Linked DNA regions of Homo sapiens: all the other regions are linked to region 2. Evidence: promoter capture Hi-C in 16 types of primary human blood cells and fetal thymus (Javierre and others, 2016). All regions are on one chromosome and are shown on one strand. The core of a region is centred on a gene start or on the middle of the fragment in contact, and the rest is flanking DNA. Distances in the headings are between cores, read along the strand shown. Region 1 overlaps MMP7 (matrix metallopeptidase 7). Region 2 holds the start of MMP20 (matrix metallopeptidase 20). Region 3 has its middle 28 kb from the start of MMP7.

What was found. The method cuts DNA at HindIII sites, captures the fragments that hold promoters and counts their contacts. A CHiCAGO score of 5 or more calls a contact.
Region 1: a contact is called between a fragment that was not itself captured here and the fragment with the promoter of MMP20 in region 2, in 2 of 17 cell types (M1 macrophages and M0 macrophages). The highest score is 7.1, in M1 macrophages.
Region 3: a fragment that was not itself captured here is called in contact with the fragment with the promoter of MMP20 in region 2 in 3 of 17 cell types (M2 macrophages, M1 macrophages and M0 macrophages); the score reaches 8.4 in M2 macrophages.

What each region holds. Positions count from the first base shown.
Region 1 is chr11:102,518,333-102,522,093 of GRCh38, reverse strand. MMP7 (matrix metallopeptidase 7) reads left to right here. Exons shown (of 6, transcript NM_002423.5): 6 at 1,290-1,586. The coding sequence ends at 1,318. Among named protein-coding and RNA genes, the nearest start is that of MMP7, 11 kb to the left of the region's middle. The HindIII fragment of the contact is 3,711 bases long and covers 1-3,360 here.
Region 2 is chr11:102,623,421-102,626,649 of GRCh38, reverse strand. It overlaps MMP20 (matrix metallopeptidase 20), which reads left to right and starts at 1,318. Exons shown (of 10, transcript NM_004771.4): 1 at 1,318-1,456. The coding sequence starts at 1,331. The HindIII fragment of the contact is 723 bases long and covers 1,129-1,851 here.
Region 3 is chr11:102,500,850-102,504,294 of GRCh38, reverse strand. No RefSeq gene overlaps it. Among named protein-coding and RNA genes, the nearest start is that of MMP7, 28 kb to the left of the region's middle. The HindIII fragment of the contact is 4,304 bases long and covers 1-3,445 here.

The DNA.
Region 1 (3,761 bases), core at 256-2,755, 100 kb after region 2:
GGTGTATAGACTATTAGAGAGTATGGAGTATTGAACAAATGTTTAACTCAGTGTTTCCTAAATTATAATCCTTTTTATGGGTCTCAATGAGTCCCATAAACTAGCACTTCAGAGAACACACTTTGGAAAATGCTGTGTAACTATTCCCAAAAGTTACGACGTAAAGAACCACTGCTGTCCAAAAGATTCACAAAATGCTGACTATTGTTCGTAAAGTTATCATGAACAAAACTGAAAATACTATCCTCCCCTTACATAAAACTGTGGAACTCATGGAATATTCTATAGCAGTCTATAAATATTTTAGAACCCTAAGAAAAATACAAAGAGACTAAAGAAGGTCTGAGGCATGCTGATTAAATTTAACAGGAAGAAAAGAGACTAGTGCATTAAAACCTTAAGTATTAGACAAAAGGGCATCTCTGGTCAGAGTTGGAAACAAGTAACTTCTGGACAAATGGAAATAGAATTTAATTATGTGGGCTGTATATGTAGGGAGTTAATCTAAAAAGTAATATGAGCAGAAAACATAGATTCCAAAGAAAGTGATTAAGATACAAGATTCCTAATGCTATACTCAGAATGATAAAAATAATAGCTGGCTGGGCGCGGTGGCTCACGCCTTTACCCAGCACTTCGGGAGGCCAAGGTGGTTGGGGATCGCTTGAGGCCAGGAGCTCGAGACCTGGACAACATGGTAAAACCCCATGTCTACTAAAAATACAAAAATTAGCCGGGCGTGAAGGTGCATGTCTGTAGTCCCAGCAACTCAGGAGGCTGAAGCATGAGAATTGCCGGAACCCAGGAGGCAGAGGTTGCAGTGAGTCAAGATCACACCGCTGCAATCCAGCCTGGGCAACAGAGTGAGACTCCATCTCAAAAAATAAATAAATAATAGCTAACATGCATTGAGTACTTGCAGTATCCCAAGACTTCACATGGATTAACTCATTTAATTCAAGAATTCAATGAGACATTATTATCCACATTTTACAGATTTGTAATCTGATGCTAAGAGAGGTTAAGTAGTAAACTACCTAAGGTCACACATCTAGTAAACTGGTAGAAACAAGATGCAAAGGTACCTGAGCCCTGGGCCCACACTCCAGTCAATCCTGCCTTCTTAGCCTCTGGAGGTTGTTCTTCAGAATCTTTGTCCCAGGGACAAGAAATGGTCTGAGTGAATAATAGATTATACTTTCTGTGACATTTCCTTTGCCTGTATAATCTTAGGATGGTTTTTATGCATTTTCTACATATCAGAATGTTCTTTTTTTTTCTCTCAATAGGAAAGAGAAGTAATTCAAGAAAGAAATAGAAACTTCAGGCAGAACATCCATTCATTCATTCATTGGATTGTATATCATTGTTGCACAATCAGAATTGATAAGCACTGTTCCTCCACTCCATTTAGCAATTATGTCACCCTTTTTTATTGCAGTTGGTTTTTGAATGTCTTTCACTCCTTTTAAGGATAAACTCCTTTATGGTGTGACTGTGTCTTATTCATCTATACTTGCAGTGGGTAGATGTCAATAAATGTTACATACACAAATAAATAAAATGTTTATTCCATGGTAAATTTATTTATAGTTTGGAGCACTCTTTCTGTGAAGACATACTATACAATGAAACGAAAGACTAAGACAAAAAAAGAATCCCACCACACTATTTTGAGGTCTTCCGCAGCACCTCACCCTTCCACCCAAGAGGGAAGGTGGGAGCTCCACCTCTTTATTGTTCATTAGTGTGGCCCAAAGTTACACTAATTTCCCCTTACCTTTGTGGCCCGTGCTCTCACACTGAGTCCTCTGGAAAGTCCAATTCTTCCCACAAATGTCTGAGAATTTCCAACAACTTAAGACTTACCACCTCACGGTCACTTCCAGCTCCAAGTTCCTACCTGCCCCTCACCTCCTGATTTTCCTGCAACCTCTCCTGCTGCAGCCACTCTCTAGGTTCCCTTCCCTTTTCCCCATGCCAACGCAGATGTTGGTCTCACCCTGTTCTCTTTAACTTTCTACAGACCAGTGCTACAGGCTTTAATGAGAATGTAGATGTTGCTGGAGATTTGCATAAATAGTGGAATTTTCTACTGTGCAAGGGTCATGAAATTGAACAAAACTAAAATTGGATATTATGGATATTATCCCCATCCTTCAAATCCTTTTTTTTTTTTTTGGAGGCAGTGTCATTGTTACCCAGGCTGGTGTACAGTGGCACGCGATCTCGGCTCACTGCAACCACCGCCTCGTGGGTTCAAGCGATTCTCCTGCCTCAGCCTCCCAAGTAGCTGGGATTATAGGCACATGCCACCATCCCTGGCTAATTTTTGTATTTTTAGTAGAGATGGGGTTTCACCCTATTGGCCAGGCTGGTCTTGAACTCCTGACCTCAAGTGATCCACCAGCCTCAGCCTCCCAAAGTGCTAGGATTGCAGGTGTGAGCCACCGCACCCAGCCCAAATCCTTTACTTATCCCCGATCAGGAATTTCTCATTGGCCACCTGCTTCTGCAGGCTGCAGCCTCTTGCCACCTGTCTCCCAACTCCTCTTGTCTTTAAACCCCACTCCTTCTCACTTCCCCAGAAACTCATTTTCCTGATGTCCTTCAGCTCAGGTCCTCCCTTTCCACACGTAGAAACCCACTGTGTTTCTCTGGGTGAAGCACTCTCTATGCAAGGTTTAACCTTTTAGCAGAACACGGAGCTGGCAAGGGCTTTGCTGTTTCAGCCTTCTCTTTCTTCCTCCTTCTCCACACTCCCAACACCCATGAATGGCTTTCTCTATAGGGAGATGAACAATTGAAATTTACTTTCTTACTGATAAAAATTATCCTTCCCACACATACCCTAAAAGCAGATCAATATCCCGAAATTCGGAACTATCCTGCAGCCTTAGGAAGCCATTCCAAGAATAGATCAAATGAGAGGAGAATCCACAATCCAGGCAAAAAATTAAGTATATGTGAACAAGCGTTCAAAGACCCTTTTAAAACATAAGGAAATATATAAATATGATGCTAGAATGAAAAGGAAGTTATGTCATTAAATTCAAGTTCTTCATTTTGTAGAAGACAAAACAGAGATTAAATGATTTCCCTAAGGTTCACAGTAAGCAAAAGTGGTGATTTAAGCATTTTGTTGTTTGTTTAGCTCTTTGTATTTTGATTTTAGACAGCAGGAGGCAGTATCTACCTTGCAGCTAAAGTGGATATCTATTGTTCTTACCTGCCCAGCATCCCATCACCCTACTTCTGGGGACAAGAAACTGCCTCTTCCCTTTGTGTACAATCTTCATGAGATGTCACATAGGTTGCCTCAAGCTGCCTGGGCTGAGAGAAGAGTACAGGACCCAAGCTTGGCCTATCAGACACTCTCCCAAAAACACTGGAGGGGTTATAGGTGGATTCATCCTGGCCATGGGGCTCTGGAGACACTGCCTAGTGAATCCTGCACCCAGACAGATTCCCTGAAGCTGCCCTGGGCCCTGTCCTTCTCATAGCTTAGGTGTAGGGCTTCTCTTCCAGATTTACAACTGACCGCACTGCCTTCCAGTACATTTTGTCTATTGCTTAAGTTATCCATAGTTAGTTCATTTCTGTGGTTTGCAAATTCTGGCACAGTAGCTTAGTTGGCTTTCCTAGGGTATCTGCACACACGGGCTCCGTTCTGTATTTCACCACATATTATCCTTCAATCTTGACAATGAAGTAAGCTCTAACAGAGCATAGAAGTAAATAAAATGTTCTTTTTCTGATCA
Region 2 (3,229 bases), core at 69-2,568:
CATCATATCTTGTGAGAACTCACTCATTGTCATGAGAACAGCATGACGGAACCACCCCCATGATCCAATCCCCTCCCTCCCTCAACACATGGGGATTACAATTCGAGATGAGATTTGGTTAGGGACACAGAGCCAAACCATATTAATGTGTGACAAACTCTTGTTCAGTGCCTGGGGTTGTACACTAGATACCAAACATTGGCTGTAACTCCACCATCTTCTCTTCCATGCAAAGAAAGCATATCAAAATGCAACAGAGTGAGAAAGACTATAGGAATTCACTGTATTCACTATAGGAATAACCTTGAATTTAGTCTAAAATCAAAATTAGGATTTGAATCCACATCTAGTGGATGCCAAGTGGTGCTTGCAGATGTCATGCTATATGTGTTACTCCATAACACTGAAAAGTTTATACATAGTAGTAGTATTGTCAGTCTTTTGTAGATTAAAAAAAACTTGATATTCAGAGATTAAATGACATACCCAACATCACACAGCTAGGAAATATCTTTTTAAATATTTAGTCTTGCTTTGTCTGACTCTAAGTGCTTTTCCCACCATATGACACCATTTCACCGTATCATCTCTGGATCCAAATCCATCTTAATCAGACCCAGGAAAAACAATATGACTCCAATTAACCAGAGTACACAGAGATTGGGGAGTTCTGGCTATTGTTTTGGTTAACGAAGACGTAACTCTTGCCTTAATTCATCCAAAAGCTTTCTAACAGTTACCAGTTCACTTTCCACCCTAAGTCAGCACAGTATAATGTAATCTTGCCTTGATGATTCAGGATCTTATGTGTCTCAGAGCCATCATTATGAACAGCAGTTGCTACTAAGAAATTTTGAAGTGAATGCAGGAGATACAGGCGATTGGGTTGAATGCATGGGGAGTTTGGGATTACTTGGAGGACAAATTCAATTATACTGTAATCATCTAACTTTTCTGTAATCAGAATGGAAAAAGGCCCCCAAATGAAGACTAATCAAATGTTTCAGTTGAGTTGGGTTCAAATCAATCAAGTTTACTTCAATTTTTGTAACTAGCTGACCAACTTCATTAAAAGTGACTGTTTTTCTCCTTTTGCCACTTGGTAAATAACAAAAAAAATATGAAGCTTTCCCTGATTCCTGTGTACAGTTGTGTTACCCCATCATCAGGGAGAGAAATGAGCTGTATAATTACTGTTTGAGACATGAATCATCCTTGCTCGGAGGGTCCAGACCTGTTTGACTCTATAAAAGGAGCTCAAGGTCGAAGTGCAAACGTGCACTGTCTGCCATCCCCCAGGCTGATATAATTACCAAGCTACTGTGAGGGGATGAAGGTGCTCCCTGCATCTGGCCTTGCTGTCTTCCTCATCATGGCTTTGAAGTTTTCCACTGCAGCCCCCTCCCTAGTTGCAGCCTCCCCCAGGACCTGGAGGAACAACTACCGCCTCGCACAGGTTTGTGAATTTTTGCCCAATTCCTTCTTGCTCCTCTGCCCTAGAAAACCTAAAAGGGCATAGTGAGAAAATAAGAAAAAAATTCTATTGTTCTTTTAAAATCATTTTATATAAGTCCATTGAAGTCTAACTGATGCTATCTTCTGTCCACCTAGATTGGTGTCTGGTGCATATTAGGTGTACCATGTTACATGACTGAATAAATACATGAGGATATATCTACCTAGCTATCTTGCTTCATAAAGAATTCCAGGTGGCTTGTGAAAACCATGCAATATAAAAGGAGCAAACAAGTACTTCCCGGGAATGATGTAGGAGGAAAAATAGAAGCAGAAAAATAAAAACCGAGGCATAATCCACACGCTAGAGGCAGGTTGTGAATTTAGTGCTAAGCTTTAGCGGTCACAACAAGGAGATTTCCTGTGTTTCCACTTTTTAAATGGCTCTTATATTCAAGGTAACCCTGATCAAAATTTAAAGTGGACTAAGTTCTTCCTGGGTGCCAACCCACTTCTCATTTGAAGGCCTTTTCTCCCTAAAGCATATTCCCCAATGAAGTAAAAGTTTATGTACAAAGTACATAACAAAGTTTATGTAGTAAGTACAAAGTACAACGTTTATGTACTTAAACTTTGTGTATTTTCCTCTTTTGAGATCTCTCCTCTATGACTGCTGGAAAGGGTCTGATAGAAATGATCCATATTCAAATATTTCACAAAGACTGCTTGACTCAAAATGATTTCTACATATATATATATATATATATATATATATATATATATATATATATATGCTTCCAAGCGTGTTTTGTTTTTAAAAGAAGGGTGGCATCCTTAACCTAAAGAAATGGATGTCTACGGATGGAATTTCCAACATTAGTGAAAGATATATAGAGGAAATGCTTTTGCACACAGGCCTCCCTTTCAAGAGTCTGCCAACATTACAGCACATCTGTGATCACCAGCTCCGCCTCAGGGCTGCTTTCCTGACTGCCAGGCTGCACCTGTGTACCGCTTGGCTGTCTGCATCGTAGAGCTGATTTGCACCCATGTGCAATGGCATGTCCCTACCGATTGTTTCTGCCACTCATCCTTATTAACTGGTCAGTTCCCCGGCCATACCAGTCATTAAACACTTAAATATCAGCCCCGCAGATGAACAGCACAGCTGATGCCCAGCACAACCATGTTGAACTGAACTTCTTTTGACTTTAGCCCACTTTTAGATGAACTAAATTCAAAATAACTCAGGATACTGGGATCCTTATTCAATTGTATTTTGTCCATGCCACCTAGCTTTAGGTGCCTTCTTCCCAAATGTAATTTTCCCTACCCTGCCTCATGCCACTGTGATTCTGAAACTAAAGAGGTTTTGTGACCTCCAGAAGGAGAGCCATGCTGAGGCCAGAATGGATCTGAGGTGTTGGGAGACCCCCCTTCTAATCCACAGTTCAGGAAAACTACAGTTGGCCCTGCCCCTTAGTTTACAGATTGTCTATGATTGCTTTTGTGCCACAATGGCAGAGGTTAGCCTAGAAGCAAAGAATATTAATTATTGGTCCTTTGCAGAAAAAATTAGTCACCCCTGACCAGTCTATTAAGGAATAAGGCTAGACCAGCCAAGCACCAGTTTCATAGAAGACAGTTTTTCATGGACGTGGGAAGTAGGAGGCTGGAGGGGTGATGGTTTTGGGACGAAACTGTTCCACCTCAGATCATCAGGCATAAGATTCTCAAAAGAGCATGCAACCTAGGTCCCTCACACATGCAGTTC
Region 3 (3,445 bases), core at 862-3,361, 120 kb after region 2:
GCTGGTTCAACATATGCATATCAATAAATGTAATCCATCACATAAACAGAACTAATAACAAAAATCACATGATTATCTCAATAGATGGCAGAAAAGGCCCCGATAATATTCAACAACTGTTCATGCTAAAAACACTCAATTAACTAGGTAATGATGGAACATATCTCAAAATAATAAGAGCTATTTATGACAAACTCATAGCCAATATCATACTGAATGGGCAAAAGCTGGAAGCATTCTCTTTGAAAACCAGCACAAGACAAAGATGCCCTCTCTCACCACTCCTGTTCAATATAGTATTGAAAGTTCTGGCCAGGGCAATCAAGCAAGAGAAAGAAATAAAGGTATTCAAATAGGAAGGCAGAAAGTCAAATTGTCTTTGTCTGCAGATGACATGATTGTGTATTTAGAAAACCCCATTGTCTCAGCCCAAAAACTCCTTAGGCTGATAAGCAACTTCAGCAAAGTGTCAGGATACAAAATCAATGTGCAAAAATCGCAGGCATTACTATACACCAATAACAGACGACAGAGAGCCAAATCATGAGTGAACTCCCATTCCAATTGCCACAAAGGGAATAAAATACCTAGGAACACAATTTAAAAGGGATGTGAAGGACTGCTTCAAGGAGAACTATAAACCACTGCTCAAGGAAATAAGAAAGGACACAAACAAATGGAAAAACATTCCATGCTCATGAGTAGGAAGAATCAATGTCATGAAAATGGCCATACCACCCAAAGTAATTTATAGTTTCAATGTTATTCCCATCAAGCTACCATTGACTTTCTCCACAGAATTAGAAAAAAACTACTTTAAATTTCATATGGAACCAAAAAAAAGCCCACACAGCTAAGACAATCCTAAGAATAAGAACAAAGCTGGAGATATCACACTACCTGACTTCAAACTATACTACAAGGCTGTAGTAACCAAAACAGCATAGTAATGGTACCAAAACAGATATATAGACCAACAAAACAGAACAGAAGCCTCAGAAATAACCCCACACATCTATAACCATCTGATCTTTGACAAACCTGATAAAAACAAGCAACGGGGAAAAGATTCCCTATTTAATAATCGTGTTGGGAAAACTGGCTGGCTATATGCAGAAAACTGAAACCAGACCCCTTCCTTACACCTTATACAAAAATTAATTCAAGATGGTTTAAAGACTTCAATGTAAGACCTAAAACCACAAAAACCCTAGAAGAAAACCTAGGCAATACCATTCAGGACATAGGCATGTACAAAGACTTCGTGACTAAAACACCAAAAGCAATTGCATGCAACAAAAGCCAAAATTGACAAATGGGATCTAATTACACTAAAGAGTTTCTGCACGGCAAAATAAACTATCATCAGAGTAAACAGGCAACCTACAGATGGGAGAAAATTTTTGCAATCTATCCATCTGACAAAGGTCTAGTATCCAGAATCTACAAGGAACTTAAACAAAGTTACAGGAAAAAAACAACCCCATCAAAAAGTGCGCAAAGGATGTGAACAGACACTACTCAAAAGAAGACATTTATGTGACCAAAAAACATAGGAAAAAAAATCTCGTTATCACTGGTCACTAGAGAAATGCAGATCAAAACCACAATGAGATACCATCTCATGCCAGTTAGAATGGCAATCATTAAAAAGTCAGGAAACAACAGATGCTGAAGAGCATGTGGAGAAATAGGAATGCTTTACGCTGTTGGTGGGAGTGTAAATTAGTTCAACCATTGTGGAAGACAGTGTGGTGATTCCTCAAGGATCTAGAACCAGAAACACCATTTGACCCAGCAATCCCATTGCTGGTTATATACCCAAAGGATTATAAATCATTCTACTGTCATGTGTGGTGGCTCACACCTATAATCCCAGCACTTTGGGAGGCCAAGGCAGGCAGATCACCTCAGGTCAGCAGTACAAAACCAGCCTGACCAACATGGTGAAACCCCGTCTCTACTAAAAATACAAAAATTAGCTGGGCATGGTGGCAGGCACCTGTAATCCCAACTACTTGGGAGGCTGAGGCAGGAGAATCACTTTAACCCGGGAGGTGGAAGTTGCAGCAAGCCGAGATCACACCACTGCACTCCAGCCTGGGCAACAGAGGAAAACTCCCTCTCAAAACAAACAAACAAAAAAAATCACTCTACTATAAAGACACATGCACACGTATGTTTATTGCAGCCCTATTTACAATAGCAAAGACTTGGAGCCAACCCAAATGTCCATCAATGATAGGCTGGATAAAGAAAACGTGGCACATATACACCACGGAATACTACGTAGCCATAAAAAAGAATGAGTTCATGTCTTTGCAGGGACATGGATGAAGCTAGAAACTATCATTCTTAGCAAACTAACACAGGAACAGAAAACCAAACAAAAAAAAAATTCTGAGAAGAAAGCACAGGGCAAGTGCTTCATGATATTGGATTTGACAATGATTTATTGGATAGGACACCAAAAGCCCAGACAACAACAACAAAATGCACATACTGGACTTCATGAAAATGTAAGAATTTTGTGCATCAAAAAACACTCTCAACAGAATAAAAAGGCAACCCAAAGAATGGGAGAAAATATTTGCAAATCATATATATGATAAGGAATTAATATAGAGCATATATAGAGACCTCCTAAAATTTGACAACAAAAAAATTTTGATTTAAAAATGGGCAAAGAACTTAAATAGAAGTTTCTACAAAGAATATATACAAATGATCGATAAGCACATTAAAACATGCTCAACATCACTAATCATTAGAGAAATGCAAATCAAAACCACAACAAGATACTGCCTCACTCACATCCCCTAAGATGGCTTCTATTTTTAAAAGCTGAGAATAAGTGTGGGTGAATATATGAAGAAATTGGAACCTCTGTGCACACTTCGAGGGAAAATTGTATAGCAGTTGTGGAAAACAGTACAGTGGTTCTCCAAGAAATAAAAGCAGAATTATCATATGATGCAGCGATTCCACTTCTGGGAAAGTACGCAAAAGAATTGAAAGCAGGGTCTCAAAGACACAGTTGTACACTCATGTTCATAGCAGCATTATTCCCGGGAGCTAAAATGTGGAGGCACACAAGTGTCCACTGACAGATGAACAGATAAACAAAATGTGGTATATATACACAATGGAATGTTAGCCATAAAAAGGAAGAAAATTCTGGATAAAACTTGAGGACCTTAGGCTCAGTGAAATAAGCCAGTTACAAAAAGACAAGCACTGCATGACTCCACTTACATGAGGTACTTAGAGTATAACATTCATAGAGATGGAAAGTAGAATGATAGTTTCCAGGGCCTTTGGGGGAAGGGGCAATAGAGAATTATTGTTTAATGGGCATACAGCTTCAGTTCTGCAAGAAGGAAAGTGTTCTGGAGATTGATGGTGGTGATGGTTGTACAAGCATACGAATGTACTTAATACCACT